2 separate regions of the Homo sapiens genome follow, and region 1 is linked to region 2. Evidence: promoter capture Hi-C in 16 types of primary human blood cells and fetal thymus (Javierre and others, 2016). All regions are on one chromosome and are shown on one strand. The core of a region is centred on a gene start or on the middle of the fragment in contact, and the rest is flanking DNA. Distances in the headings are between cores, read along the strand shown.

Region 1 (2,949 bases), core at 202-2,701, 760 kb after region 2:
CATACTTGACTGTTGATTTTTGAGAATTTATTTCACTCTGCTTCCTGCTTTAGCCCTTGACTTCCTCCAGACAAATTCCTGTTCTCATAGAGCTTATATTCTAGTGTGGAAAGACAGGCAGAAATAGAAGAATTGAAGTAAGGAAGGGAGCCAGACATGGGCAGGGTGGAAGCAGAGTTGCAATTTCAAATATAGAGGTCTGGAAAGTCCCCATGGAAAAGGTAACATCTAAGCAGAGACCTGAATGGCATGAGGGGGAAAGCAGTGGGTAACTGTGTTAGTTCTTTCTCACACTGCTGTGAAGAAATACCCAACACTGGGTAATTTATAAAGAAAAGAGGTTTAATTGACTCACAGTTTCACATGGCTAGGGAGGTCTCAGGAAACTTACAATCATGGCGGGAGACACCACTTCACAGGGTGGCAGCAGAGAAAATGAGGGCCCAGTGAAGGGGGAAGCCGCTTGTAAAACCACCAGATCTCATGAGAACGAACTCACTATTGATACGAACAGGAGACAGGGAAATACTGGGTAGAAGAGGGTGGTTCCTGGCAAAGGCCCCACCCTTAAGCCTGGATACCTGCTGCCCTAAGTAATAGGCATTCCTGTTTTTGCACCCCAAAAGTTGCCTTCTGGCCTGCCACCACCCCTATCCTGTATCCATATAAGCCCCAAACCCCAGGCTCCAGAAGCAGACTAGGAGACAAGGAGACAAACAGATGGCAGAATGGTGCAGCAGAGGAGAGAAGAGAAGGAACGTCAGGAGGAGTTTGGCTGAGGATGTTCGGAGAATCAGCCACTGGACAGCCAAACTCCAGGGCAAGATCATATTTCTACTCCATCCCCTGTCTAGCTCCCCAACCATCCCACTGAGAGCCACTTCCACCACTCAATAAAACCCCTGCATTCATCCTTCAAGTCCATGTGTGACCTGATTCTTCTGGGATGCTGGATGAGGGCTTGGGATACAGAAAGTTGTCACACTAGCCCCCTCCTTTTGCAAAAAGGCAGAGGGTTCACTGAGCTGGTTAACCCTTAAGCCATCTGTGGATGGCAAGGCTAAAAGAGTGCACTGTAACACATGCACACTTGGGCTTTGAAAGTTACAGACACCCACCCCTAGATGCTGCCATAGGGCTGGAGCCCAAAAGCACTTGCCCCAGTTCCTGCACCTACCGGTATGCATGCTCCCCATCTCTTAAAGAGTTTGAGCTTGCAGTGGCAGAACAGAGAGCCACACCCCTGTGGCACACCCTGTGGTGGGGGACCAGGACCAGGGAACTCTCTCTTTTCACTATCATGAGAACAGGCTGGGGGAACCGCCCCCAGCATTCATTTATCTCCACCTGGTCACTCGTATGACATGTAGGGATTGTGGGAACTACAATTCAAGATGAGATTTGGGTGGGGACACAGTCAAATTATATCAGTAACAGAGGGAGATCATTCTAGGTTGAAGAAGCAGCCAATACAAAGGCCAGAGCCTTTGTATTTGTGGGATTGTTTTGGAGGAACAGCAAGAAAGCCAGGGTAATGAAGCGGAGTGAGAGGAGGGTGGCAGGAAGAGAGTTCTGACACAACATTTCCAAGGCCCTGTTGCAGGGCATTAGCAGGACTTTGCACTTTACTGGGAGTGCCATGGGGCTGGGATCTTTTAGAGGGTTTTGAGCAGAGGCCTGACATGATCTGACAGTTTCAAATGGATCCTTGGGAGGCTGAAATGAGAATAGATTGAAGGAGAAAAACCTGATTTGATTTATATTGTGCAAAGATGGCTCTGACTGTTGAGGAACAAACTGTAAGGGAGCCAGGAATGCAAACTTCCCACACACTCCATCCTTGCAGACTCCCTGGAAGATTGGTCAGGCATTGGATATTCACTACAAACCCCCAGGCCCCTCACACTTGTACCTTTTGCTTATTAGGAAGTGAGTGGAGAGAAGACTTCAGAGTATAGCTTATGTTGAAATGAGACTTATACCAACCAGTTAGCCCCATGACTGGGAAAGGGAGATTACGTCAGTGTCCTTGTCCTGCTGAGATCAAGTTACAAATCAAATCATGCCACCCCTTTACCACATCAAGAACTAAAGCAATAGGATACTTTAAAAAATTTCTTCCAAAGAGCTCTTTGTTCAGCCCACACTTGCAGGCTCTAAAGTTACAAACAGGAAGACAGGAGAGTGAGCAAAGTCAGCATGCCCTAAAAATTAAAGACTTTTTACCTGTTGCTCCAAACACTGTAATTACTTTCTTGCTGGCCATGTTATCAGGAAAAGAGAGAGTCAGTGGAGTAACAGAACTTTCCCTGGAGCAGCGACACCAGCCGAAATGCTGTGTTTCTTCTCTGGTGAGAATTATAAACCCATTCCAATTACCACGCCTTTTATTGTGCCCCTCCTTGTTCCTGTTACCACTAGTCCACTTACTCACTGTGACACTGCAATTTTCAATTTTCTTTTTTTCTTTTTCTTTTCTTCTTCTTTTTTTTTTTTTTTTTTTTTTTGAGATGGAGTTTTGTTCTTGTTACCCAGGCTTGAGTGCAATGTCACAGTCACAGCTCACTGCAATCTCCACCCACTGGGTTCAAAGGATTCTCCTGCCTCAGCCTTCCAAGTAGCTGGGATTACAGGCACGTGCCACTATGCCTGGCTAATTTTTTTTTTTTTTTTTTTTTTTTGTATTTTTAGTAGAGACGAGGGGATTTCACCATGTTGGCCAGGCTGGTCTCGAACTCCTGACCTCAGGTGGTCCGCCCACCTTGGCCTCCCAAAATGCTGGGATTACAGGCATGAGCCACTGCACTCAGCCAACACTGCTGTTTTCTTTCTTTCTTTCTTTCTTTCTTTCTTTTTAATGGAGTTTCACTCTTGTTGCCCAAACTGGAGTGCAGTGGCGCAATCTCAACTCACCGCAACCTCTGCCTCCCGGGTTCAAGCAATTCTCCT
Region 2 (3,190 bases), core at 109-2,608:
TTAAAGGTTTGGAGTTCTATAGTTTTTAGCCTAGGGCCAGAGACCCAGTGAATTCTTTTGCTGCAGTCTAACTAAATTCCTAAATTCTCCCTCTCTACTTGGTCCTGTTGAGATTTCTCCATCTACTTTTGTTTCATTTCACCCTAGATTCTACTTCTCTGATCATCCAGGAAGCCAACCTGCCTGAGGACGAGTCATACTCTGTCCTCCCACCCCAGGCCAGAGAGTGGTATCTGTCTTTCCACAAGTTGTAAGCTTCTACCTTTGATGATCACATATTTGGTAGTGCGTGATGGTGGTGGGTGGTGGGTGGCGGTGGTGGTGGGTGGTGAGGGGTGGTAGTGGTGGTGGGTGGTGGTGGGTGGTGGTGGTGGTGGGTGGTGGGTGGTGGTGGGTGGTGGTGGTGGTGGGTGGTGGGTGGTAGGTGGTGGGTGATGGTGGTGGGTGGTGGGTGGTGGGTGGTGGTGGGTGGTGGGTGATGGTGGTGGGTGGTGGGTGGTGGTGGTTGGGTGGTGGTGGTGGATGGTGGTGGTGGTGGGTGATGGTGGTGGGTGGTGGGTGGCGGTGGTGGTGGGTGGTGAGGGGTGGTAGTGGTGGTGGGTGGTGGTTGGTGGTGGTGGATGGTGGTGGTTGGTGGTGGTGGGTGGTGGGTGGTGGGTGATGGTGGTGGGTGATGGTGGCGAGTGGTGGTGGGTGGTGGGTGATGGTGGTGGGTGGTGGTGGGTGATGATGGTGGGTGGTGGTGGGTGGTGGGTGGTGGGTGATGGTGGTGGGTGGTGGTGGGTGGTGGGTGGTGGTGGATGGTGGTGGTGGTGGTGGGTGGTGGTGGTGGTTGTGGTGGTGGTGGTGGGTGATGGTGGTGGGTGGTGGGTGGTGGTGGTGGGTGCTGGTGGTGGTATGTGTGTGTGTGTGTGAGGCCTGGACTCCTAGTGATAGTACAAATCCCAAGTGACTTCAAGGTTAAACACAATTCACTCACCGTCTTAGTGGCTTCAGTTATGCGGTACAATACAAACTGGTTGTTACTTTGGTTTTGACTGTTATATTTCTTCAGAGCAGCATCCACAGCTTTAAATAAATCCTTGTCATTGCAGTCAATTTCCTCGGACTGTGATTCCTGGGTTAAACTTAGTAGCAGCCTGGAGCAGAGGAAAAGGATGGTAATTAGTTTCATGATCTAACAATCTCCCTCTAGGAGCTGAGGGATGGTTTCACCAAGAATCAAGAGCCAACTGGGATACTGAATTTGACAATCTCCAGCCTCTTGTTTCTTCTGTCCTCCTCTCTGCCTCAGAACTCAGGGCACTGGTTGGATTCCTGCTGCCAGACGCTAGTTGCCTTGTTCCCAAAGGTTAAATGGCTCTGCTGGGTTATCCAAACATATTTACAGCTAGAACATTGCAACACTGGGGTTGTTAACCTGCTCATTTGCATTTGAAAATCACGTGGCAGCACAGTGCATATTTCCAGGTGATTATACAACTTTATGTAGCAAATCAGAGCAGAATCTGATGAAGGAGGGGAAACAAGTGCCTACTAACTCGGTTATTCCCCTGTGACTTTTGCAAAGCCATTTTTGAAGGTCACTACATGGGTAAACAATGCAAGAATGAGTACAATGTGCAGACACATTTCATACAAAGTTTCTTTGCAGGATACCTACCTGCATAGAAGCAGACTGCTGTTAATTCTATTACATGCCTAAGAAGCTCATGCACAGGGGCATCCAGTGAGTTCCAGGAGTCCCATGCAGGACATTGGCACAACTGAAAATAAAATATGGGCGTCCTATCTGCTCTCTGGACAGGCCAGCCTTTCTCTGCTCAGTTGCATTAGTTCTGTAAAAGAAAATTGCTCCCAGGGTGGAGATAGAGGAAAAGCATAGGAAGGGATGGGTTGAGTGAAGCCCTGGATTCCCTATGCTTGCTTCTTTCTGGTTTGGTGTTGTTGGTTTGGCACAGAAAAAGATAGCCCCAAATATGGCTCTTTGGCATGCCGAGTACTTTGAACTGAAAGACATTAAAAAGGCTGCAAAAGCAAAGTCTCTTTCTTGCTTTCTCCTGCCCGTCTTTCTCCTGCTCCACTTCTCTCAAGGCAGGCCACAGAAGCTAGAATTTCTCTTCCCCAAGGCGGGTCATAGAACCCTTCTCCCTCAAAGCCAGCAATAAAACTTTATTATTCTTATTTTCCTCACATCAACACAGAGTGGGGAAACTATATTACAGAATGGTCCCCACCTGTAGACCAACATTGGAAAACTACAGTTGATAATCTCAGCAGAAGTGTGAGGCTTGATGGTATCAACATCCTTACTCCAGTAAAAATTGGCCAGGCACGGTGGCTCACACCTGTAATCCCAGCACTTTGGGAGGCTGAGATGGGTGGATCACCTGAGGTCGGGAGTTCGAGACCAGCCTGACCAACATGGAGAAACCCCATCTCCACTAAAAATACAAAATTAGCCGGGCGTAGTGGCACATGCCTGTAATCCTAGTTGCTCGGGAAGCTGAGGCAGGAGAATTGCTGGAACCCGGGAGGTGGAGATTGCAGTGAGCTGAGATTGCGCCATTGCAATCCAGCCTGGGCAACAAGAGCAAAACTCTGTCCAAAAAAAAAAAAAAAAAAAAAAAATTCGGCCTATTCACTCTGCTCCTTGTTCAGACTTTATTTTTTTAAAAAGTCTGTAGAGCCATGTTCATGAGGACAAACCTAATTTTTCTTTTTCTTTCTTTTTTCCTTTTTTTTTTTTTGACACAGGACATAGATGTTTGGACTATTTTCAATCTTTTTGTTTCTGATAAAAAATTATGTAAAGAAAATCTTTGTGCTCACCTATAAAATAGAACAAAGATTTCTTGGAGAGATGTAAAACATGGTTTTGCATCTTATTTTATATACACTTATAAATTTCAGGTTAAATTTATTCTTAGATTCTATGCCTAATTTTTTTTTTTTTTTTTTTTTTTGAGACAGAGTCTTGCTCTGTGGCCTAGGCTGCGGTGCAGTGGTGCAATCTCAGCTCATTGCACTTCCCGGGTTAAAGCAATTCTTCTGCCTCAGCCTCCCAAGTAGCTGGGATTACAGGGGACTGCCACTACGCCCAGCTAATTTTTGTATTTTTAGAAGAGACGAGGTTTCACCATGTTGGCCAGGCTGGTCTCGAACTCCTGACCTCTAGTGATCTGCCTGC

The links. Contacts are between HindIII fragments. The CHiCAGO score rates a contact against its expected background, and 5 or more counts as called.
Region 1: a contact is called between a fragment that was not itself captured here and the fragment with the promoter of KNG1 in region 2, in 1 of 17 cell types (total B cells). The highest score is 5.5, in total B cells.

The regions. Positions count from the first base shown.
Region 1 is chr3:185,959,356-185,962,304 of GRCh38, reverse strand. It overlaps the pseudogene NMRAL2P. Among named protein-coding and RNA genes, the nearest start is that of TRA2B, 23 kb to the right of the region's middle. The HindIII fragment of the contact is 4,527 bases long and covers 1-2,949 here.
Region 2 is chr3:186,715,527-186,718,716 of GRCh38, reverse strand. It overlaps KNG1 (kininogen 1), which reads right to left and starts at 1,358. Exons shown (of 10, transcript NM_001102416.3): 1 at 980-1,358. The coding sequence starts at 1,174. The HindIII fragment of the contact is 10,098 bases long and covers 258-3,190 here.